7 separate regions of the Homo sapiens genome follow, and all the other regions are linked to region 7. Evidence: promoter capture Hi-C in 16 types of primary human blood cells and fetal thymus (Javierre and others, 2016). All regions are on one chromosome and are shown on one strand. Each heading gives the region's core, a stretch centred on a gene start or on the middle of the fragment in contact. The rest is flanking DNA. Distances are from core to core; before and after follow the strand shown.

What was found. The method cuts DNA at HindIII sites, captures the fragments that hold promoters and counts their contacts. A CHiCAGO score of 5 or more calls a contact.
Region 1: a contact is called between a fragment that was not itself captured here and the fragment with the promoter of KCNK9 in region 7, in 4 of 17 cell types (naive CD4 T cells, M2 macrophages, M0 macrophages and 1 more). The highest score is 5.4, in naive CD4 T cells.
Region 2: a fragment that was not itself captured here is called in contact with the fragment with the promoter of KCNK9 in region 7 in 1 of 17 cell types (megakaryocytes); the score reaches 6.1 in megakaryocytes.
Region 3: a fragment that was not itself captured here is called in contact with the fragment with the promoter of KCNK9 in region 7 in 2 of 17 cell types (fetal thymus and megakaryocytes); the score reaches 5.6 in fetal thymus.
Region 4: a fragment that was not itself captured here is called in contact with the fragment with the promoter of KCNK9 in region 7 in 3 of 17 cell types (megakaryocytes, monocytes and fetal thymus); the score reaches 7.0 in megakaryocytes.
Region 5: a fragment that was not itself captured here is called in contact with the fragment with the promoter of KCNK9 in region 7 in 3 of 17 cell types (erythroblasts, M2 macrophages and naive B cells); the score reaches 6.3 in erythroblasts.
Region 6: a fragment that was not itself captured here is called in contact with the fragment with the promoter of KCNK9 in region 7 in 7 of 17 cell types (megakaryocytes, fetal thymus, M2 macrophages and 4 more); the score reaches 9.0 in megakaryocytes.

The regions. Positions count from the first base shown.
Region 1 is chr8:140,295,634-140,298,965 of GRCh38, forward strand. All of the region lies in intron 11 of TRAPPC9 (trafficking protein particle complex subunit 9), which reads right to left. Among named protein-coding and RNA genes, the nearest start is that of TRAPPC9, 160 kb to the right of the region's middle. The HindIII fragment of the contact is 1,154 bases long and covers 1,197-2,350 here.
Region 2 is chr8:140,373,641-140,377,111 of GRCh38, forward strand. The region is part of intron 7 of TRAPPC9 (trafficking protein particle complex subunit 9); the gene reads right to left. Among named protein-coding and RNA genes, the nearest start is that of TRAPPC9, 82 kb to the right of the region's middle. The HindIII fragment of the contact is 8,881 bases long and covers 1-3,471 here.
Region 3 is chr8:140,332,926-140,336,462 of GRCh38, forward strand. The region is part of intron 9 of TRAPPC9 (trafficking protein particle complex subunit 9); the gene reads right to left. Among named protein-coding and RNA genes, the nearest start is that of TRAPPC9, 120 kb to the right of the region's middle. The HindIII fragment of the contact is 1,398 bases long and covers 1,125-2,522 here.
Region 4 is chr8:140,436,386-140,439,870 of GRCh38, forward strand. TRAPPC9 (trafficking protein particle complex subunit 9) reads right to left here. Exons shown (of 23, transcript NM_001160372.4): 3 at 2,667-2,812. Among named protein-coding and RNA genes, the nearest start is that of TRAPPC9, 20 kb to the right of the region's middle. The HindIII fragment of the contact is 3,285 bases long and covers 1-3,273 here.
Region 5 is chr8:140,314,401-140,317,799 of GRCh38, forward strand. The region is part of intron 9 of TRAPPC9 (trafficking protein particle complex subunit 9); the gene reads right to left. Among named protein-coding and RNA genes, the nearest start is that of TRAPPC9, 140 kb to the right of the region's middle. The HindIII fragment of the contact is 1,703 bases long and covers 1,037-2,739 here.
Region 6 is chr8:140,356,643-140,359,898 of GRCh38, forward strand. All of the region lies in intron 9 of TRAPPC9 (trafficking protein particle complex subunit 9), which reads right to left. Among named protein-coding and RNA genes, the nearest start is that of TRAPPC9, 99 kb to the right of the region's middle. RefSeq lists a silencer at 2,140-2,199. The HindIII fragment of the contact is 4,499 bases long and covers 1-3,256 here.
Region 7 is chr8:139,701,094-139,704,667 of GRCh38, forward strand. It overlaps KCNK9 (potassium two pore domain channel subfamily K member 9), which reads right to left and starts at 2,030. Exons shown (of 2, transcript NM_001282534.2): 1 at 1,617-2,030. The coding sequence starts at 1,899. RefSeq lists a silencer at 1,753-2,047. The HindIII fragment of the contact is 15,596 bases long and covers 1-3,574 here.

The DNA of each region.
Region 1 (3,332 bases), core at 524-3,023, 590 kb after region 7:
ACTCGTGAACTATCCCAAGTTAAAGTGGAAAATGGTCTCAAACACTACCCTCAAGAGTTTCTTCATCTCCAAAACCCTATGCCACCTGCTGTGATGATACCTCCCCCAATTATACACCGAGGTTCATTTAGAGAGACTGGAAATTTAGGTTAAAGTTATGTGATCTGTCAAGCTTCTGCACAAGCACTCACTGATCAGTACACTGCCAAAAAGATATTAGAAGCTATGGGATATAAATTGCATTTTCCTACCAAACAAATAATGTGCATTTTGGCTGAAACTTGCGTTATATCTCAGAAAAAAATCTTACATCATCCACTGAATTTGTCCTCAGCCCAGATGAGCAGGTACTTCTTACTATGGTGAGAAGCCATACTATAAAGAAAAAAGGCCCTGGGCATCGAGTCCTGCAACCTGGCATGGAGCCCGGGGAATGTCACTGATAAGCTATCTGACCTGGGGCAGGTACTTAAATTTCGTTCAGTCTTAATTTTCTTATTTGCAAATAGGGAATATAATAATGCCGGCAGCATCAGCATCAAATAGTTTTGAGAATCACTGGATAATGTTTGCTTAAGCCCTCTTCAACAAATACAGATTGTAATTTTCACAAAAGGAATCTTTGACAATGTCTTTTTATTTGTTTTTTGAGGTAGGGTCTTGCTCTGTCACCCAGGCTGGAGTGCAGTGGTACAATCTTGGCTCACTATAGCCTCGACCTCCCAGGCTCAGGTGATTCTCCCACCTCAGCCTCCCAACTAGCTGGGACCACAGGTGCCCGCCACCAGGCCTGGCTATTTTTTTGTATTTTGTGTAGAGATGGGGTTTTGCCATGTTGGCCAGGCTGGTCTCGAACTCCTGGGCTCAAGCAATCCACCAGCCTCAGCCTCCCAAAGTGCTGGGATTACAGGCGTGGGCCACCACACTCGGCCAACAATTTCTTAAGATTGAAAAGGAAAAGCAGAGAGGCAGGGCCTACAATCCATGCCATCAGTGGCACAGGGCCCTGTGCCCTGGCATCTGGGTTCACGCTCTGCTGTTGCTGTCTTCGAATTCCTAGTGATGTTTGAACAAAGGCCCTATGTTTGCATTTTGCACTGGGCCCCACAAATCACATGGCCCATCCTGAGAAGAGGAGTCTCACACCTCCAGTCTCCTAAATCACCTCTGGAAGTTTTTCTCAACGAAAGAACTGAAGCTTTCCTCAAAAGTTCCGTAGGGGAGACAGTTCATCACCAACCCCAATGAGAACACAAAAGAGCAGCCAGAGACTCTAGAAGGTCCCAGGGGGAAGAGCCTGAGCACTCGTAGGACAGCAAGTCCGGGGCCAGGGGAGACAGAGGAGCCCTGAGGGTGGCCTGCCCATCCCCACGGAGCTCGGAAGACGCCCTCCAGAGAGGAAAGGTGGAGTTCCCACAGGAGGCCAGGAAACGACGTCCCCAAAACACAGTGAGGACAGGATTTGTACAGCTCTCTCCTGCTTACCGCAACACACGCTGGAGCACATCTGGGGCTGCCATCAGGCCCTGCCTGTTCATCCACCACGTCTACCCAGCGCCTACACTTCCTGTCACCTCATGTTCTCCAGATCAGAGAAGCAGTGGCAGGAGAGACAAGATTGGGGTGTCTTTCAGAATCAATAGACTAAAAATGGCATTTTAAAAACGCATACACACACACACATGCATGCACACACTCATACACACACATGCATAGACACACACACATACACGCATACACACAATATACACATGCATACACACATACAGATGCATACACATATACACACGCATACACACACATACACACATACAGATACACACAAATTCTAGAGTAGATTATATAGTTAGTGCTCACATTTTCAGAAATTTTCCAAAATACAGTATTGACTGCAGTTTTTCAAGGGCATGACCCCATGTCTCTTTATTTTCTTCTCATTCTAACAGTGAACAGCTAGAACAGCTGGAGCCACTCCTTGCAAAGCCCACACGGCTCCTCAGATGGAGGCTGTGTCTGAGCCTCCAGAGGGCTTCCCCAGGGTCTGCGGGGCCCCCACCCCACACCCCACTCCCAGTTAGCCCAGTGTTTATTGTTCATTCGAGTTCAACGTGTAAGTAACCAGGTACCCCTGCTGACAGATGTACAGTTTTAGAGAGCGTTTATTCACATTTAGTCTCGATAGTCAACTTCTCACGTTTGTGTCTTGCCTGCATGAACTAAACTGAAAAACCAGCCGAGGGTGAGGACTGTGAGGTCCAGGTAATAGGTCTGTCCCACACCTACTGTGCACGTGAGAGGAAACCATAGGGTACTAATGGGAACAGGACACGTGGTCTGTGATGTGAAATCAAGCTTGTCACTAACTGAGTAACTTTTAGTTACTTCTAAAAGTCGTTTCTCTAAGTTTGTTTCCTCATCTGTAAAAGGGAGATAAAAATGAAATCTCCCAAAAATACTGGAAAAACTAAATAAGGTAACATATGATAGCCTCTTATAAAGCACAACTAGAATAAAAGAAATGATTACCATTTTTAAAAGCACAAGGTTCTTTGAGTACTCCTACCCTAGTTATGCCCTTTATCTCAGCAAACAACTTTATTTCCTCTGAAGCACTTTATTTTTTAAGGCATTCGGATAATTTACAAATTGTTAATGAAGTTTATTATGAGACCCTTACAGAAGCTAAGAAATCCTAGAGCTAGTAATATATGAGAAATGCTCATCAAGACAATGTGCTGGCTGGACGCAGAGGTCCCCACCTGTAACCCCAGCTCTCTAGGAGGCCGAGGCAGGGGATTCACTTGACCCCAAGAATTCGAGACCAGCCTGGGCAACATGGCAAAACTCCGTCTCTACAAAAAATACAAAAATCAGTGGGTGTGGTAGTATGCACCTGTGGTCCCACCCACTCGGGAGGCTGAGGCAGGAGGATCAACTGAGCCCAGGAGGTTGAGGCAGCAGTGAGTCCTAATTATACCACTGCACTTCAGCCTGGGTGACAGAGCTAGACCCTGTCTCAAAGAAAAAAAAAAGATGATGTGCTACACGTAATGCTCTTATTGTCCCTTCTGCCTTGAATTCCACCATGCCCTGCCAGGAACATGAAATGTACAGTGAGATCTAGGTTCTCCTGTGAGTTCTTGGACATGACACTTAAACGTCGTGAATCAGTTTCCCCGTCAACAAAATCTATAAAATGGGATTCATAATATGTACCCCATCCATTCATTCATTCTTTTGTCACTGCTCCAGGTGCTGGGGAGACAGCAGCTGCACACAGCCTGACAGAATTCTGGGCTTCAGGTGATATTGCAGGACAAAGCATCAATGGG
Region 2 (3,471 bases), core at 755-3,254, 670 kb after region 7:
GCTCACCAGCATATGAGGATATCACCTGCTCACCAGCATATGAGGATATCACCTGCTCACCAGCATATGAGGATATCAGTCTTTTTTATTTTAGACGTTGTGGTGGCTTTAACTTCCATTTCCCTGAAAACTAATGATGTTGAACCTTTTTCATATGATCACTGGCCACTGGTATATCTTCCTTTGTGAAGCGCTTGTTCAAATCTTCTGACAGTTTTTAAAATTAGATCGTTTGTTTTATTACTGAGTCGTACGAGTTCTGTATATATTCTGAATGCAAGTCCTTAGTTATATGTGTTTTGCAAATATTTCCTCCCGGTCTGTTGCCGATTTATTTCCCTAAGGGAGTGTTCATAAGCAAAAGCATTTCTCTGTGATGTAGCTCAATCTATCAGCTTTTTCTTCTATGGTTAGTGCCTTCTATGTCCTCATCTGAGAAAAATCTTTGCCCGAGGTCACAAAGATATCCTATGTTTTCATCTAGAAGTTGTTGTCTAGGTCTATGGTCCGTGAATATTCAAATTTGAGTAGGACATGGCCTGTCCCTTTCCAGGAGTGTGCAGTACAGCAGCGAACAGAAGCCCCAGTGCTGGAGGACAGCAGCCAGGGACGGGGTGGAAGAGGACTGTAAAGAGGAGGCAGGGGTTGGCCGGGCGCAGTGGCGCACACCTGTAATCCCAGCACTTTGGGAGGCCGAGGCAGGCAGATCACCTGAGGTTGGGAGTTCGAGACCAGCCTGACCAACATGGAGAAACCCCGTCTCTACTAAAAAATACAAAATTAGCCAGGCGTGGTGGTGCATACCTGTAATCCCAGCTACTTGAGAGGCTGAAGCAGAAGAATTGCTTGAACCCAGGAGGCGGAGGTTGCAGTGAGCCAAGATTGTGCCATTACACTCCAGCCTGGGCAACAAGAGTGAAACTCCATGTCAAAAAAAAAAAGAAAAGAAAAGAAAAAAAGAAAAAGAAGAGGTGGGGGTACTTAACGCCTTCATCACAAATCTGGAAATGCCCAGACCTTCAGCTGCACCCACTATGTGCCAGACATGATCAAAGATGTTGGGGCAGAGAAGGGGGCAGAGAAGACGAATACTGATCTTAGCCAGTGCCTGTAAAGAGGTCACCATCTAAAATAAAGGTGACAGCCGGGGAAGGTCACATGCCTTGGCCACCAATGCGTTAGAACTCCCATTGATTCTTTCATGGAACCTATCTAAGATGAAAGGTTGTAAATAATACTATGATCAGTAATAATATTACTTCATTCCTCTTATCATTTCAGTGTAATAAGAAGTCAAATGATAAATACTACATTGCAAATGGAATTGACATCACTTTAAAGCCCTAAAACGGTTCCTTAATGGGAAAAGCTCGAGCGCAACTGCTTTTGGGCACTAGGCAGACAATTGACTGAGAAGCCATGAGCCCAGAGAGCCTCAGGACAAAGCCATGTTTGGTCGACACAGGCACCTATGGCACAAGGAGCCGGGGAGTACAAAATGGTCCCTGGCAAAGCTAGGCCAAGATCCTCAGGAAATCTTGAAATGAGATGAAATCCCCAAACTCATTTCCAACCTGCTGCTCTTTTAGGGCATATTAATCAGCACATCTTTGTTCTAATCTTTCAATAGGCTGCACAGTCACGAAGTCCAAGTTCAGGGCCCAGATGTTTATGTGAGGTTCCAACGAAAGTGGCTCCAAGACTACTCAAGACAAGGAGCTTTATTCACAAGGCAGACTCTGAGGGATCCAAATATTAACTCACCATTCCATTTCCAAGTAGAAAGTAAGTTTAGACCTGCTTTATTCTGTTAATAAGAAATAAAGTGACAAGATCAGAGGGAAACTCCAGACACAGGACTTGTCTCTGGCAGGATGGAGAGGGAGGAATACAGCCTGGAGCTGTAAAGTCCTGAGTTCCAGGGCCACATCTGCATATCCCTAAGAAACAGGGATCATCAAATCTAATTACGATTGTCAAAAAGACTCAATGAAATAATGCAAACACTGAGCATAAGCCTAAAACTCTCAGTGAGTGTTCAAGAAACAGAAATATCACTGTTAGTTAATGCCTTTGACACCACAAGTTCTAACCCCAAGTTAACCAGCCACTGATGCTCTAGAAAATGCCTTAACCCTCATCAGCCTTCTCAAACGTGGGCACTTGCAGTGATCAGAAGAACAAGTCAGTGACAGATGTGTAGGGGCAGCCTGGTGGCCGCACTCAACTAAATGATGACCGTGGGAGAATGCCGGATGGGAAACAGCAGGCCCCACACATTCCCAGGTTTGAAAACACACTCTGCTCCTCTCTCCGGCTATTTCCAGCCATAATTACATGGAGAGAAAATACATCTTCAAAATTATACAAACTTTCCATATATGTCTATCAAAAAAGTTTGTTAAAAACATAACCTACTTTCTCATATCCCGGAGTAGGGGTATGAGGCATGCACCAAGGATTTTCCTTTATAAAGCATCTGTCTAAAGTAATTGGATCCATTTTCAGTTTTAATCATTCAAAAGTAAGAATGAAAACAAAGCAAAACAAAACAAAAACTTCAATAAGACCTGGTCCCTCAAAACTTCATGAAGTAGTAGAGGAGATAGGTCCATAAAGAATCACAGTGTTGGAGGCCGGGCGCGGTGGCTCACGCCTGTAATCCTAGCACTTTGGGAGGATGAGGTGGGCAGATCACAAGGTCAGGAGATCAGGATCATCCTGGCCAACACAGTGAAACCCCGTCTCTACTAAAAATACAAAAAATTAGCCAGGCGTGGTGGCAGGCACCTGTAGTCCCAGCTACTTGGGAGGCTGAGGCAGGAGAATGGCGTGAACTTGGGAGACGGAACTTGCAGTGAGCCGGGATTGCGCCACTGCACTCTAGCCTGGGCACAGAGCAAGACTCCATCTAAAAAAAAAAAAAAAAAAAAAAAAAGAATCACAGTGTTGAGGCCAGGCAACGTGGCTCATGCCGATAATCTCAGCACTTTGGGAGGCTAAGGCAGGCAGATTACCTGAGGTCAGGAGTTCGAGACCAGCCTGGCCAACATAGTGAAACCCCATCTCAACTAAAAATATAAAAATTAGCCGGGCGTGATGGTGGGTGCCTATAGTCCCAGCTACTCAGGAGGCTGAGGCAGGAGAATCACTTGAACCTGGGAGGTGGAAGTTAGCAGTGAACCGAGATCGCGCCACTGCACTTCAGCACAACAAGAGCGAGGCTCCATCTCAAAAAAAAAAAAAAAAAAATCACAGTGTTGGGAAGAAGATGGATGGAGAGATGGCTGAAACAGGGATGCTGTGCCCTATGCCTTGGACAGATACCTGGAAGGTTCCTAGACTACCAGGTATACCCACCACATGCTAGAGGAAGGACACTTTGTAAACAGTCAGTGCCCTTGTTGAGTGCACCATCCAAAAGAGATGGCCAAGCAAAGTCCGCGCTTGACCCCTGATCACCTCAGTTCC
Region 3 (3,537 bases), core at 574-3,073, 630 kb after region 7:
ACCAGCCTGGTCAACATCGTGAAACCCCCAACTCTACTAAAAATACGAAAATTAGCCGGACACAGTGGCACATGCCAGTAGTCCCAGCTACTCCAGAGACTGAGGCAAGAGAATCACTTGAACCCGGGAGGCAGAGGTTGCAGTGAGCCGAGATCATACCACTTCACCCAAGCCTGGGCTAAAAAGCGAGACTTTGTCTCAAAAAAAAAAAAGAGAAAAAGAAAAGAATGAAAAGAAAGAAAGCAATTAACCCAATTTTTAAAATAACAGAAAACAATACAAAAGAAATACACTAAAATGTTAACAGGGCTTGCCTATATAGGATTATGCATAATTTTTTCCTGTTTATGTTTTCCAAGATTTCTAAAGGAAGCATATATTACTTGTATAATAAAAACTATATATATGTAGATAGCTAGATATAGATATAGATGTAGATATAGATATAGATACATAGGTTTTTGTTTTGTTTGTTGTTGTTGTTGAGACGGAGTCTCACTCTTGTCGCCCAGGCTGGAGTGCAATGGTGCGATCTCAGCTCGTTGCAACCTCCGCCTCCCAGATTCAAGCTTCTCCTGCCTCAGCCTCCTCAGTAGCTGGGATTACAGGCACCCACCACCATGCCCAGCTAATTTTTATACTTTTAGTAAAGACGGGATTTTGCAATGTTGGCCAGGCTGGTCTCAAACTCCTGACCTCAGGTGATCCACCCGCCTCAGCTTCCCAAAGTGCTGGGATTACAGGCGTAAGCCACCGCGCCTGGCCATAAAAACTATATTTTAAATGCTCAAAATTGAATTTTCAAAAAGGTTTTACAACGAAAAATCAGGGTTTGTTTATAAATGCCCCATGAGTGAAGAACATAGTATCATAAAATGTCAATGGCATAAGAAAACTTTGAACTTCCTTCATTTCCACAAAGGTGGAAGTTTAAAGTAAGGGAATTTATAGCCCTTCCCAGTGTAACACAGATGTTTTACAAACAACAGCTGCATTGATAACTGACATTTAATGAGGTCTTACTACATGCCAAGCACTAGTCCAAGCACTTTACATATGCCTTACTAAATGATTCCCAAAACCTTACCAAAAAAGTGCCATTGTTTACAGATGAGAGAAATTGAAGCTTAGAAAGAACTCACCCCCATTCAGTTCAGTGTGCCTTCTACTTCTCCACCACAATCTCTCATGTGTAATATGCTCAGCCATCTCCCTTTATTCTAAAACTATTTCATATTTCACTTCATATTCATTTGACAAACAAATCTTGAATATCCACCCTCTATAAGGAAGAAGCCTATCTTAAATCGCTCAACTGGAGTCCCACATCTTCAAGCACAACAGCAAAATCTCGTAATTCCTTTGTCTGCCTGGTGGAGTCTCAATTGATACATTTTAGGAAATAATTTGAGAAAGGCAATGTGAAATTAAATCAGTTCCATGGCTCGGCAAGGTGGCTCACGCCTATAATCCCAGCACTTTGGGAGGCCAAGGCAGGAGGATCACTTGAGGTCAGGAGTTCGACACTAGCCTAGCCAACGTGGTGAAACCCCATCTCTACTAAAAATACAAAAATTAGCCAGGCGTGGTGGCACATGCCTGTAATCCCAGCTACTCGGGAGGCTGAGGCAGGAGAATCGCTTGAACCCGGGAGGTGGAGGTTGCAGTGAGCCGAGATCGTGCCATTGTACCACAGCTTGGGCGACAGAGCGAGACTCTGTCACTAAATAAATAAATAAATAAATAAATAAATAAATAAATAAGTTCCACATGTATTGACTACTTTCTAGTAGCATTGCCCAAAATGATAAAAGATAAAAGGTGAACAGACATGATCCCTGTCCCCAAGGAGTCTGTAATCTAGTGAGGGAATCGGATAGGTAAATTATTCTGAAGGTATAATAAAATGATGCTGAATTGAGAACTAAGCAAGATAATAAGGAGGTGCAGAGGAATAAATTAATTTCTTAATAACAGGAAACAGGGAAAGTACAAGAACAGAGCATGCTACAATAGAAGCAGCATGAAAAACCATGTGATACACTTAAAAAGCAAAAAATGTTCAGTGTATCTGAAGTATAGGTTACATGGATAGAAAAAGTATGCAATGAGCCTAGAAAGATGGTTTGACTCAAATCGTGAATGTCCTTGAGAAAGATGGTTTGAATCAAATCGTGAATGTCCTTGAGAAAGAGTTGAGACTTTACTAGATAGACAAAGGGTAGACACTGCAGATTCTTAAGGAAGAGAATGTGATTTAGCTTGCATTCTAAGGAGGTAACTCCGGCCGCAATGTGACGCACAGGCTGGAAGGAGCAAAGCCAGGGAACAGGACCATGATGTCAAGAGTCTACTGCACTATTCCAAGTATAGGTGTTGAGAGTCTGAACCACAGTCATGACCACGATGGGAAGAGGGGAAATCCCCACATGAGAGAAACTCAGGCATTAGAATGGGCATTCCAGGCAATTAATAGGATACAGGATAAGTATGACAACTTGGGGATGACTGACAAAGTTTTAAGCTTCCCACACTAAGAAAATGCCAACACCCTTAACTCAAACGGGAAACATAGAAGGAAAAGAGAATGAATTCAGCTGAGGATATGGTAACCGCAGGATCCTATGAGACATTCAGGAGACAAATCCAGCCTTCATTGGGAAACTGAAGTTCAGAGGTCAGGAGTGGAAATATAACCATGTGAAATCATGAGCAAATTTTTGTTATATTTTGAATATATCAAGAGCTTCACTCTTAAGTCCCATCATAAGTCTTCACAATTTTTTTTTTTTTTTTTTTGAGACAGGGTCTCGCTTTGTCACCCAGGCTGGAGTGCAGTGGCGTGATCCCAGCTCACCAAAACCTCCACCTCCTGGGTTCAAGCGATTCTCCCGCTTTAGCCTCCCGAGTAGCTGGGATTACAGGCTCCCGCCACCATGTCTGGCCAGTTTTTGTATTTTCAGTAGATCCAGGGATTTCGCCATGTTGACCAGGCTGGTCTCAAACTCCTGACCTCAAGTGGTAGGCCCGCCTTGGCCCCACAAAGTGCTGGGATTACAGGTGCAAGCCACCGCACCTGGCCAACAATATTTTTTAACTTTATAATCTCAATGACTCACTGTGTAATTCCTTATTTTTAAGAACCTTTTTTTTTCACAACTCAAATTATTACTTTTGATGTATAACTAACTTCATAATTTTTGAAACCAAAATTTCTTTTCCATCTGCTCAGTTTTCTCCCCCATGATGAAGCATACTTGTGTGTCACGTCCCTGAGGTCACGGGACTTAACAATTACAGTAAAAGCCCCTTGTTTATTTATGACATAATGATCACAGTTACAACAACAAAAGATTTTGTTCAACAGATATTCCTACTGTGTATAGTCTGTGGCTGCAAGCCAGCCGAGATTCCCAACCCTGGCTTGCCTCTGTCTGCACCACGCTCTGCTCTGCGGCAAATGAGAGACAGCTGATGTGAACAGGGAGGCAAAGAAAGGCAACACCAAAACTGAGGGCCACTGGAAATATGTAGAAA
Region 4 (3,485 bases), core at 381-2,880, 730 kb after region 7:
GTTAACAGTTTTATGAAAAATAATTGTTTTCCAAAACAAAAATAAAGTACTGGAGGAATGGCATTATTTGACATGTTCACACATTTCTTTAATATCAGAGTTAATACAAGTCAGCTGGATCTTCTATCAGCTTCTACATTCAGTCTGCTGTGATGTCAGGCCTAAGTAGCTTGTGGACAACTCCACTGTCCACTTCTGAGAGGCTGAGCATGGAAGAGGCCCACGGCACACAGCACCGTCCTTCTCTGTGTGCCCTTTAGGAGCCCTCCTCATCCAGTCCAGCGCCGCATGGGGAAGGCATATGGGCAGTACCAGTCTTTCTGGAGAAGCACCTGCTGCACATGCCCTAGTCTCAGAGCCCACTGGGAGATGCACAGATTCTCTAATTGATACAATAAGGAGTACTTAGGGAGACAATGCTCTTTCAAGAAAACCAAGTAAAACTATGTCTTTCTCAGCCTGCATAATCCTTTATCTGATTCTCTTTTCTTTTCCATCCCTAATTCTTACTCCCTTTCTTTCCCCACTTCTATTTCCCTAGCCTCTTTAAAAAACTAAATTTAAGTCCATTTTAAGTTTTATTTTGGTTTTTTCTTAAGAGACAAAGTCTCACTCTTGCTCAGGATGGAGTGCAGTGGTGCGATCGTGGCTCACTGCAGCCTTGACCTCCTGAGCCCAAGCGATCCTCCTGCCTCACCCTCACAAGTAGCTGGGACTACAGGCACAGACCACCAAGCCCAGCTAATGTCTTTTTATTTTATTTTATTTTATTTTATTTTGGTAGAAGTGAGGTCTCCCTATGTTGCTCAGGCTGGTCTCCACCCAGTTAATGTTTTTTAATTTTGTTTTGTAGAAGTGAGGTGAAGTAAGATTTTTTTATTTTTTATTTTTTGTAGAAGTGTTGGGATTACAGGCATGAGCCACCATGCCTGGCCGTTTGAAGTATTTCTTATATTTGGCTGGGCACAGTGGCTTATGCCTGTAATCCCAGCACTCTGGGAGGCCAAGGCAGGCATATCAGCTGAGGTCGAGTTCAAGAGCAGCTCGGCCAACATCGCAAAACCCCGTCTCTACTAAAAATAGAAAATTTAGCCGGGTGTGGTAGTGCATGCCTGTAAGTCCCAGCTACTCGGAAGGCTGAGGCAGGAGAATCGCTTGAACCCAGGAGGCGGAGATTGCAGTGAGCCAAGATCATGCCACTGCACTCCAGCCTGGGCAACAGAGCGAGACTCCGTCCCCAAGAACGAAAGAATTTGTTATATTTAATATGTTCTACGGCACCTCGTTAAACTTCTGTTACAGAACTCACCTCATTACTTCATTCCGACTTGTATTATCATAAGTGGCTGACAGGTGTCCTTGCTAAACTGTCAACCTCAACGAAAGAACCCTGTTTTAGTCCTTACCCACACAATGGACTCAGCCAGTCCATCCTCCCAGGACCACCTCCAGGAGGCGCAGTCCCCAAAGGGAAGACCACACACAGACATCCGATTCCACCACGAAGTGTCAGCAACATCTCAGGCAGGGCACCCGCTCTGCCGACTGCTGCGGGGGATCAGAGATGGCTGTGCTTTGAAGTAGGATTTCTTCTTCCCTTTCTTTTAATTTTTAAGATTGACATAGAGTTCACATACCATATAATTCACCCACTTAAAGTGTGCAAGTCAGCAGTTTTTAGTATATTCACAACTGTGCAACCATCACCACTAACTGACTCTGGAACATTTTCATCACCCCAGAAAGAAACCTTATGCCCGTTAACTGTCACTTCCCATTCCCCCTCCTCCCAGCCCCTAGAACCAGTTGTCTACTTTCTGCTTCTATAGATTTGCCTATTCTAGCCACTTCATATATATAGAATCATACAATCTGCGGCCTTTTTCATGCCTGCCTTCTCTCACTTAGCACAAAGTTGTCAAGGTTCATCCGTGCTGCAGTGGTATCACAATTTCACTCCTTTTCATGGCTGAATAATATTCCGCTGTATGCCCATACCACATTTCGTTTATCCATTCATCATGTGACACATGGAGGAGGTTTTGAGGGAGGAGTCTAAGAGGTGAAGATCATGGGGAACGGCATCCAAAGCAGAGGGCAAGGTATACTAAGAACAGAGGAAAAGGGAAAGTGTGGGCAGGGCCTCCTTCAGAGGACGCATGGCAGGGTGGGAGGAGGGCAGCAGATACAGCAGGGAAGCATCCCAGGCCACTGCTCGTGGCAACCAGCACAGGCTGGCTGCTTTTCCTCCCTCATCCCTTCTTTTTGGGGAATTTCTTCTGCCGTTTCCTCTCATTTCTTTTTTTATTTTATTTTATTTTTTTTTGAGATGGAGTCTCGCTCTGTTGCCAGGCTGGAGTGCAGTTGTGCAACCTCTGCTCACTGCAACTTCTGCCTCCTGGTTCAAGAAATTCTGCTGCCTCCGCCTCCCGAGTAGCTGGGACTATAGGCGCGTGCCACCACGCCCAGCTAATTTTTGTATTTTTAGTAGAGACGTGGTTTCACCATGTTGGCCAGGATGGTCTCAATCTCTTGACCTCATATTTGGCCTGCCGTAGCCTCCCAAAGTGCTGGGATTACAGGCGTGAGCCACCGCACCCAGCCTCTCATTTTAATTAACAGTTGAAACAATTACATATCAGATCATCTTCATCAGCTCATCTTACCTCCAAGCCACAGAAAGTCATTCACAGAACGCAGCAGCTCCACCGACATGTGGTAATGCACCAGGGAGTCCTGCAGCATCCCTGCCTGCAGGCACAGGTCCCCCACGTGCTTCCGCATGCGGCCTTGGCACCGCTTCTTGTAATGTCTAGAAAATACATGAAAATGTATCTTTATTACTATACAACTCCCACCCAGAAAGCACTCTGACTAAGCACTATTCAATTCTCTCACTACTAAAAATGCTAAGAAGGCAACTGTAGGCTCTATAATTTTAAGTCAGCAATAATCATTGCCAGTTATGTGAGCTGGAGTGGTCTTAATTTCAAAAATGTACTGCCAAGCAATTTGTTTAAAGGTGATCGGTACGTAAGGACTTCTACCATGTCTTTCACGTAGGCAATGTTACAGTTGGATTTTTCTTTTTAGATTTTCCAGTTGTAACATTAGCATAAGGAAGTTTATGTTTCAGCTTTTTAAAAAAATCAATTATCTTCCACTTCTTAACATCAAACCTCTTATTATTTTATAAAGACAGCTATGCTGAGTCTTATTAGCCAACCATTTGGCTTTAGCAAACAAGACGTTCATCCTCGCTATTTCAGGGCAAGCTTTAGGAAAGCTTCCAGAGAGCAGGGCCTGGGGTGCTCACTAACAGCTCTTTAAATATTGGCAAGGATATACCACTAAATAATGCAAAGGCTTCTGAGTCCCTAATCAACTCAGAAACCAAAGAAACTGTACCAAAGTATTCCTTTTATCATTTTTAAATACATCTAACCTTTAAATGTTATATTTCTTAAGATAGATGATTTTTTTTT
Region 5 (3,399 bases), core at 638-3,137, 610 kb after region 7:
ATCAGGGTCATCAGCGTATCCACTGCATCAAACATTTATCGGTTCTTTGTGATAAGAGCATTCAAATTCCTCTCTTCTAGATCTTTTGAAATATACCTTTTTGTGAACTATAGTCACCCAACCGTGCATTAGAATACCAGAACTTACTTCTCCTAACTAGAGCATTGTATCCACTGTCCATCCTCTCCCCATCTCCCTTCTCCCAACCATCCCCAGACTCTTCTAACCTCTATTCTGCTAATTCCATGAGACAAACGTTTAAAAATTTCACACCTGAGGAAGACCATGAGGGATTTGTCTTTCTGTGCCTGGCTTTTTTCACTTAACATATGCCCTCCAGGTCCATCTGTGTTGTTGCAAATGACAGGATTTAATTCTTTTTTATGGCTGAATGGTATCCCACTGTGTATCTATATCACATTTTCTTTATCCATTCATCTGCTGAATGGCACTTAGGTTGATTCCGTATCTTGGCTATTTGAACAGTGCTGCAATAAATGCAGGCATGCAGTCACCCCTTCGACACTGACTTCATTTCCTTTGGATATATGCTCAGTAGCGGAATGGAAGATCATACAGTGGTTCTATTTTTAAGTTTTTTGAGGAACCTCCATACTGTTTAACATAATGGCCGTACTAATTTACATTCCCACCAATAGCGTGTAAAGAACCCCTTTTCTTCACCTCCTCACCAACATTTCATCTTTTGACTTTTTGATAATAGGTATTCCAGCTGGAGAAAGGTGATCTCTCATAGCGGTTTTCATTTGCATTTCCCTGATGATTAGTGATGTTAAGCATTTTTTCATACATCTTTTGGCCATTTGTATGTCTTTTTTTTTTTTTTTTTTTGGTGGGCATGTGAGATTTAAGGGCTGATTTTGAGAGATAAAATAAGTTCAGTTTCTCTATAAATTAATCATTATTGTCAAAGACACACTGATGCAAGACCAGCATATGAGCCCCTGTGTCAGATTAACAAGGTCTTCTTGAAGCATTAACCAACTCCTTAGTAAAGGTTATAAAGATTATAAAAAGCTTATGAAAGTTATATCTTGTGTTCAAGATTAAAATTTTATAGTTTATAAAATTTTGAAAAACAAATTTAATTGGTTTCATGCTATTTTATTAGGAAATATTGTTTGGAAAATTAAGGCTTCTTTCTCAAAGAACGAAGGTTTTCACCTTTCTAAAAAAATCCTTGAGTTATTACTTTGGTCAAATGAATGACTTATTTTACAATGATCTGTGATATAAGTGTTTTAAACCTTTGACCTTTCCAAAATCAAATTATAAATTATATCTTTTTCTGAACTAATTAATCCTTTAAGATACTAGGTTCCCTAAAGTCCAAAAGTGACATAATTTGTCTTATTTGGTATAAAAATTACACAGGAAACACTGTCAAATATGAAATGGTGTTTAGTTTTCTTTAGGCTATATTTACACAAATATGTTATTGGTATGTGTTCCAAAATCATGGGAAACTCCTATAATTCTGATATGACTTAGTGTACATTATCAGTAATAATTATAATTGTTATGTTAAATTATTGTGTGCCACAGAGGTAACAAATTTCCTTATGGATTGTATCTTTGACTATGGCTGCCCTAAAACCTTTTGTCATCCACAGACAATTGTTGTCTGTTTTGGTCTTTAGAAGGTGGTTTTATAATCAGCTATAAAACTCTACCAGGTGCTGTTGAATACAAGTTTCTGATAACTTTGGAGACTGTGACATCAGAATAGAAGAAAAACTTTCAGGACTCATGGAGAACTGAAATGTTCAGGAATATCAAGCAGAATGGGAATTAACTACAGACTGAACTAATACAAGACTGAAGTAATCTTTTTGATTTTTTGCTTAAAACGTTGCTGGTCCTTTGTTTTTTCAGAGTCAAGGAAACTTTTCTTTTGAGCTATTAACAGCTTTTAATGATTGAGTGTACTCCTATGAACAAAATTTAGAACATATTTGTTTCATTCTACCTGACTCTTCCAGAATTTGGAAACTATTTGTGAGTATTCTTAACACCTAATTTGTTGAGAGTTTTTATCATGAAGGGATGCTGAATTTTGTCAAATGCTTTTTCTGCTTCTATAGAAATGATAATATGGTTTTGGTTCTTCATTCCGTTAATGTGATATGTCACATCTATGTTCAACCATGTTCGCATCCCTGGGATGAATTCCACTTGATCATGGTGGAAGATCTTTCAAATGTGCTGTTGAATTTTGTTTGCCAGTATTTTGTGGAAGATTTTTGCATCTAATCTTCATCAGGGATATCTGTCTTTTGAGATTAGTTTTCTTTTGTTGATGGTGTGTCTTTCTCTGGTTTTAGTATACCAAAGTAATGCTGGCTTCACAGAATGAGTTTGGAAGTAGTTTGAGAAAAATTGGTACTAGTTCTTTGTTAAATGTTTCAGCAGTGAAGCCCTCAGGTCCCGGGCTTTTCTTTGATGGGAGACTTCTTATTACTGATTCAATTTTCTTATTCGTTTTTGGTCGTTCAGATTTTCTATTTCTTCATGATTCATTCTTGGCAGATTGTATGTGTCCACGCAGTTATCCACGTCTTCTAGGTCACTGAGTTTGTTGGCATATAATTGTTTGTAATAGTCTCTTGTGATCTTTTATGTTTCTGTGTTATCAGTTGTAAATTTCTCCTTTTTGATCTCTGATTTTATTGATTTGACATTTATTCTTTTTTTCATAATCTAGCTAAAGGTTTGTTAAGCTTTTCAAAACACCAGCTCTTCATTTCATTAATCTTTTGTATGGTTTTTCTCATCTCTATTTCATTTATTTCCACTCTGATCTTTATTATTTCCTTCTTTCTACTAACCTTGGTTGAGTCTGTTCTTGTTTTTCTAATTCCTTAAGATGCAGTGTTAGACTGTTTATTTGAAAGCTTTCTTCTTTTTTGATGTAGGCACCATCTTTGGCCAGTGGGAGTCCCTTCTGGTTGGTTCCTGTGTCCTTTGGATAAGGTCCCATTATTCTTTGATCCCTTTGTTTCTGGTTCATATCCAGCCCCAGGCCTAGAATTAAATCACTTCTCCAAGGAGCTCTCATTCCCTTTAGTGGAAAGAAGTGTTTAGAGACTAAAACCCAGAGGCTAGAAGTGCTCTTTGCTACTGGATTCTCATGGTCTCTGAAGGGCTTTACAAAGGACAGGACAACTTACAAAGTTTTCACAGTGATAAGATTATAAGTGATTTCTGCTTTAATTTTTTTTTAAGTTTAACAACGAAAAATAAAAGATTTGGACTATAAGCTCCTTAAAAGGAAGAAAGTCATGTCCCTACCCACAATTACATTTACTGAGCACTTACGATGTGCCAAATATTGTACTATGTTCTTTAGACTATAAAATCTTTAAGGCAAGGGATTCT
Region 6 (3,256 bases), core at 325-2,824, 660 kb after region 7:
AGTCTCACCCAGGCTGGGGTGCAGTGGCATGATCTCGGCTCACTGCAACCTCCACCTCCCGGGTTCAAGCGATTCTCCTGCCTCAGCCTCCCAAGTAGCTGGGATTACAGGCGTGCACCACCTCGCCCGGTTAATCTTTGTATTTTTAGTAGAGATGGGGTTTCACTATGTTGTCCAGGCTAGTGTCGAACTCCTGACCTCAGGTGATCCGCCCGTCTCACCCTCCCAAAGTGCTGGGATTACAGGAGTGAGCCACCATGCCCGGCCAAGAATGTGCTTTTGAAAAATGTCTGAGGACCCAAGTCAGAATCAACTTCCCCATAAGCAATCACGATGAAGGCAAGGGCTGTGACAACATCACTCACACCTCAGCAGCCATGCACTTGGCATCTAGCCTTTGCCAGGTCCAGCTCCAGGTAGACAGCAGGCAGAATGAGGTTTTCTCCCATGGAGGGAGACAAGCATGGACCAACTAAATACGTAACTGATGACCGACAAGTGCAGGAAGAAAGAGAGCAGAGGCCCAGAGTCCCTGGTCTAGCTAGGGACTTGTGAAGGCTTTCAAGAGGAGGCCAGGCCCAAGAGGAGTCACATGGTGAAGGGGCAGGGTGTGGGGACAGGGGAGGTGCACCGGCCCTGCTGTGGGAAGGAAGGTGTGTGCTGAAGAAGTTCAAGATGCAGCAGACACAGCAGGCGAAGGAGTGACACTGACGGCTCAGGCGAAGGGCTCAGGGCCGTGTCACCACAACTCACCAACCGTGGGGACTGTGCTTACTGAGGTGAGGTATGTGGGGACACTGCCACCAGGAGAGAACAGAGTCCTGGCTACAGGGGCAGAGGGACATGCCATGGGTCAGGGATGGCACCCGAGATTCTAAGCCCCTACACAGAGTCCAGGCACTACCTCTTTAGATTTGCTGGATCACGGGGAGGCTCAAGAAATTCCAGGGGAGTAGGGGAGGTGGGCAGCACTCCCAGGGGCTGGGGAGAGCAAACATTCACTCGAGCAGGTAACACCAGACCACTGCCCAAGCCGCCACTGAGCCACAGTCACCCCAGCAGGAGACACGGGTGGCTCTGGGAGCTCTGCCTCGGCCTGCTGCTCCCTCCCGTCACCGAAACGCCGGAGTGCAAATGGGCCATGGAGCCAGCTTCCACGGTGGCCCTGCTGGCCACCTGCTCACTCTGCAGGTACAATCAAGAAAAGCACAGTTCAAATGCAGCCCCAAAAGCAACAGCGACCCAATACACGCAGAAAAGGAGCTGCACGGCTGTCGCAGGGGCCCCGGTCAGAGCAGAGATTCACTTGGGTCACCAGAAGTCCTCAACAGAAAACAACAGCTACTCCACACGAGGATGCCAACGGCCACAATAAGTGGTGTGTGCCTTCAGAACCTTGGCAACAAAGAACCACAGGGGTTCACGAAAGGAGAATTCCTTTCTCTTAGAGATGGCCGTGGAAATCACTGTAGGGAAATCAATGTTTCCTTTAAAGAATGCTAGTGTTTCAACAGGTGCAGTGAGAAGATGGGCTTTATGAGGACTGCTTAATGTATACTAGGTTTCTTTCTTTCTTTTTTTGAGACAGAATTTCACTCTTATCGCCCAGGCTGGAGTGCAATGGCGCAACATTGGCTCTCTGCAAGCGCCACTCCTGGGTTCAAGTTATTCTCCTGCCTCAGCCTCCTTAGTAGCTGGGATTACAGGGGCCTGCCACCATGCCTGGCTAATTTTTTGTATTTTTAGTAGACACGGGGTTTCACCATGTTGGCCAGGCTGGTCTCGATCTCCTGACCTCAGGTGATCCGCCCACCTGGGCCTCCCAAAGAGATCGGATTACAGGAATGAGCTACCACATCCGGCCAGAATTAGTGCATTTAAACCTCACAACCACCCTCAGAGATGCACACCCCACGTTACCCTGGAGCCAGAGCCTGCTCAAAGACAGAGAACAGCCAGGGGAAAGCAGTGGGTGGAGGGCTGGAGAGAAAGATGTGCTGCTTTTAGAAATGTGAAAACAGAGAAGCACGAAATTTGGGAGGTGCCAGGACATGAGACTGAGGGAGTGGGGTCGCCACCTGGACAGCAGCAGTGACGGCACAGCACTGCAGGGGGCAGTAATGAGTCGCCCAGACGGCCTGCAGGGAGGAGAGGCCCGTTCCCCAGGGGAGAGTGCTGCCTCCCCAGAAGTTGTCCTTGACGGGCAAGAGCCCTTCATCAAGACCCTACCCTTTCCTGGGAGCAGTGAGCACCCAGGGCCTGGCACGGGGACAGGAAGCCCCGGCCCTCCCATCGCCAGAGATCTCTCCGACGGCTTCCCAGCTGCACAGGCCCTGCTGGGTCAGCAGAAGCCTTGTCTCCTTGCTGAAGAGAACCACATCACCCAGGGTAGACTGCATTCAACTGCTGGTCAGTGAGGGAGGAGAATGGCCCGGCCCCCTCAGAACAACATGGGACACGTCTGCAGGCCACGGCAGTGCAGGGCTCCCCGTGCAGCTGAGGCCTGTGTCCATATAGCACTGAGGCCCAGCTTCTCCCACTGTCCAGTCTCGCCTCCATCTCTTCCCTTCTACGGGGCTGATCCCATGAGTACGTCCCAATACACTCTGCACACATCAGTCTCCCCAGCAGACAGCACTTCCCCAAGAACCCAGCTGGCACCACACACTGGGCCAGGGCCAGGGGTACAAGGAGGAAGGCAGGTTTGGGGCAGCTGAGCCCCAAGCGCGTAGGGAAACAGGTCATGACTAAAACTCAAAAAGCAGATAGCACCCAGGAGCAGTGTAAGAAGAGAAGATGAAGGCCAAGAAAGGAGCCCGGGAGAAAGGCAACCTTGAAACAGGGGCAGAAACACCGCGTGGCCCCATGAGAGCCAACACATGCAAACCTCATCTTTGGTTCTGGAAGGGGGGATGGAGTTACCCAGTGACTCGAAGGGGCACGAGGGGCCCTGGGTTCTGTTCCTGCCCGTCTCTGATCTGGGTGTTGATTATAGCGGTGGCCACTTGGTGAGAATTTACTGAGCCACATTCCTATGAGTCGTGCACTCCTCTATGTAAATGTTATGCTTTGACATTTATATTTTTAAAAAGGCAGGCTAAGGAAATGGGAGGCAACACAGGAGGCTGAAAAGAAGCCTGAGAGGTGGAGGGAAAAGCCATGGAGTGTGGCGGCCGAGGAGCAGGAGGAGATGGCGTGAAGGCGGGAGGAGGTGGCACAGGTGTCCCAGAGAAGTGAGTGTGGAAGGAGGGAGCCA
Region 7 (3,574 bases), core at 780-3,279:
GCCCCTGTCTCCCAGAATCACTGCCCTGTGCATCTGCGTGCCACTGCCACAGTTTAAAGCCAGAGAAAATGGCAATGACTGGCCCTCTCAGAAGCTGGAAACACAGTGTGGGAAGGGAAGGAGTCATCTGTGTTTGGGGTGCTGGGCAAAGGGCGTGGGGCAAGCAAGAGCCAAGCTGATTATGTAGATAACAGAAGGACAATTTCCTTCACAAACAGAAAAACCTGCACCAATGAATTAAACATTTAAAACAAGATGACTCTCTAAAAAGTATTTTCAACCAAGAAGGAAAGACAGGCCGTCCTGTGCTGGCGCTTCCTGTTGCATATGGCACTGAGAAATCCTTTTTTTTTCAGTATGCAGAGATTTCCAGACAAAGAAAAATATCAAGAGGGAAATTAGAGGAGGAGGTCCAGAGAAGCGAGACAGGAGGAGCTGGGAAGAAGGGAGGGGGGAAGGAGGAGGTCCCTGCCCAGGGCACAGGGGTGTGAAGCCCTGAGGGGTGCAGGAAACAGACCACCCCCACTAACACACTGGCCTTGGCAAGTCCAAGGAGATGGCCCTAGAGAGGCAGCCTGCCTCACTGGGGCAAGTGAACCACAGAGACACCACCCTGCCTCCTGCCATGCAGGGTATCCACCACGTCCACCCGAATGAAGGTACCTGCCCCAGCTCCCACAGGTCTCCAAGTATAACGTCCGGGAGTCCTCCCAGCCCCCAGCCTTAGAGGGGACACTGCCCTCGGGACCGACCAGAGACCCTGCTCTGTGAATAGCGCCCTTGGCAGTGGGGCTGGCGGGCATCCCTGCAGTTTACCAGCTGGACCCCCTCTCGTGACTGGGGCTCAAGTTCCCTGGTTTCTGGGCAATGTCTAGACTGGCCTTTCCCAGTGTCACAGCCTAGGGAGTGGGCAGGTTCTGCCCTGCCCCCACTCTCCACCTCTACTGAGAGCAATTGAGGGGCTGCCACCCCCAACGCAAGCACCAGAGAGCAAACTCTCTCCTCCCAGGGGCCTGGGAAGTCCAAGCTCCAGAACTGGAACTCAGGGGAAAAAAGGAGCCGGGCGGGGGGAAGAGAGATGAAATCTGAGCTCAGAGAAGCCTGGAGCGGGGCCCAGGGGCTACGGAGGGTCAGTGCCTCTCACGCCCCAGGCGCACTCCCCTGCCACCTGAGTCCCTCTAGGAGCCATGGGTGCCAGGCCAGCCCTCTCCAACTCCCAGAGAGGTAGTAAGTGTAAGGCTCAGAGCCCCGCGCAGCCCAGCCCGCGCCGGGGCGGTGGGTGGGTGGGTGTCTGCTATGGGATTATTCTTAGCGCTCCACTCTCTTCGCAAAAGTGGCGCCTCCGCCCTCCCGGCTCAGGCACACTCGCTCGGGGCTCGCACGCCCGGCCCAGACACCAGCGCGGTGGAGAGCACCGGGTGGGGTCCCCGAAGGGTGAGGCTCGGAGGCGCCGCGGAGGGGGGGCTCCCTAGAGAGGAGGGGGCGCTGCGGGAAGGCCCCCAAGGGAGGCTGCGTTTAACCCTCGACGCCCTGCACCCAGCCCGGCGCGGCGCGCTCAGCCGCCTCCCCGGACTCCTCCCGGGGCGCGGGAGCCCAGCGGCGCGCCCAGCCCTTACCTATGGTGGTGATGACCGTGATCGCAAAGTAGAAGGAGCCGGCGAATTTCCACTGGACGCCGGCGCGGTGCGGTTCCGACTGCAGGATCACCAGCTCCAGCTGCCGGTAGTCCTCGCTGCTGATGTTGTACTTCCCCTTGATCCGGATCTCCTCGGCTTTGAGTTTCTCCTCCTCGCGCATCTCGTGGTCCGACTCGAGGGCGTCGAACACGGCGGCGCCCACCAGCAGGTAGGTGAAGGTGCAGACGATGAGGGACAGAGTCCGCACGTTCTGCCTCTTCATGGCCGCCAGCAAGGAGCCGGCGCGGGGGGCATGTCCCGCAGGCTCACAGCCGCGCGCGTCCCACTGCAGCGCCCGGCGGCCGCCGCCGCCTCCTCCTCCGCCGCCGCCGCCGCCGCCTCCAAGTTGTAAGCGGCGGCGGCAGCAGCAGCAGCAGCAGCGGGGAGGCGGGGGGCGGGGAGGCTGGGGGGGGCCCCCTCCGCTGGGGCCGCCACAGCCACCGCCACCGCGAGGCGGCTGGCGGGGCAGGGGCGGCGCGGGCCCGGGCTCAGCCGAGAAGGCGGACAGGCACAGGAGGCTGCTCGAGCGCCGGGGCCAGGCGTCCGGGAACCCCGACACCCTGCGCCAGACCCGGCCGAAGCAGCCCGCCCCACTGCGCAGGGCCATGCAGGGCGGCCCCGCTGGGTACCGCGCGGGCCTTGCTGCCCTCCGCACCCCGCCCCCCGCTCCCGCGGGAAACGCAGGGACGGGAACCGGAGCCAGAAAGCGGCCGGAGGGCGGCCGCGGGGCCCGGTACCCCTGTGGGTCCAGCTCGCGGGTGGCGGTGCCCAGCAAGGAGCCTGCAGGTCCGCGCGCCCAGCGGAACCTGCTTCCCCTTTTACCCCTCCTCGCCCCCTCTCGGTGGTGGGGAGGAAAAGTTTGCGAAGTGGCGGTGTCTCTGGAGTCCCCTGCAAGCGGGGAGGGGGCCGAGCAGGTGCAGCGGGAGGGGCAGCCCGCTCCCCAAAGGTCCGCGCGCCCAGCGCCCACCCGGGCGCGCGGGTGCGCAGCGGGGTCCCCGCCGGGCGTCGGCCGGTGCGCGAAGTTTGCTCGGCTCAACCCCCAAGGCGCGGGAGCGGGGCGCGGCCCCAGGACGGCAGGGACCGCGATGGAGCGGCTTCGGGGGCGGCCGGGGGACGGCGCGGTGGCGGTCGGCCAGCCCGCTCCTCCGGGGGCGGCGGGCGCGGCGGCGGCGGCGGGAGGGGTCCCGCGGGCCTCGCGGAGCAGCGGGGCGGACGCGGGCGCATGAGCCGCGCGGGGGTCGGGGCCCTCCGGCGTCCGGGCGTCCCGGGAGGCGGCCGCCGCGCTGGTCTGCCCCGGGCGCTACGTGCGTGCGCGCCGTTGGGAGCCCGAATGTGTGTGTGCGCGTGTGTATGTGCGTGTGTGTGTGTGTGTGTGTGTGCGCTTGGCAGCCCCGCTCCGGCGGGAGGGCCTCGGGGAGCGGGGGCCGGGCTACGCCGAGGCCGGGCCTCCCTCCCTCCCTCCCTCCCGCAGCCTCCAGGGCGCGCCACCTCCCGCCTGGTCCCCAGCCAGCTGGCGAGGCTGCTGTGGCAGCTCCCGCTGCAGACCCAGCGCGGCGCAGGGCGCACGCGGAGGGAGCCCGGGAGGGGCGGCCTGAGCCGCCAGGGAGGGGGCGGGGGCGGAGCCGCCGGCGGGTTTTGGCGGGGGATGGGAGGATAAACGCGGCTTCTTGGGTCCTTCTAGCCCCGCTCCCCAAGAGCGCAAGCAGCCCTGGCGGGTGGAGAGTTTGAGGGACTCGGGGTTGGAGGAGGAAAACGGGATTCAGCCAGAGATGGCAGGCTGACAGCTTCAGGCAGATTGGGCAGAGAGTGGGGAGCAGAAGGGGAGGGGGCCATGGGCACACAGGAGAGCGGCAGCAGCGGTTCACGAAGTCTTCCCCACCCCCCACCCCCCACCTAGC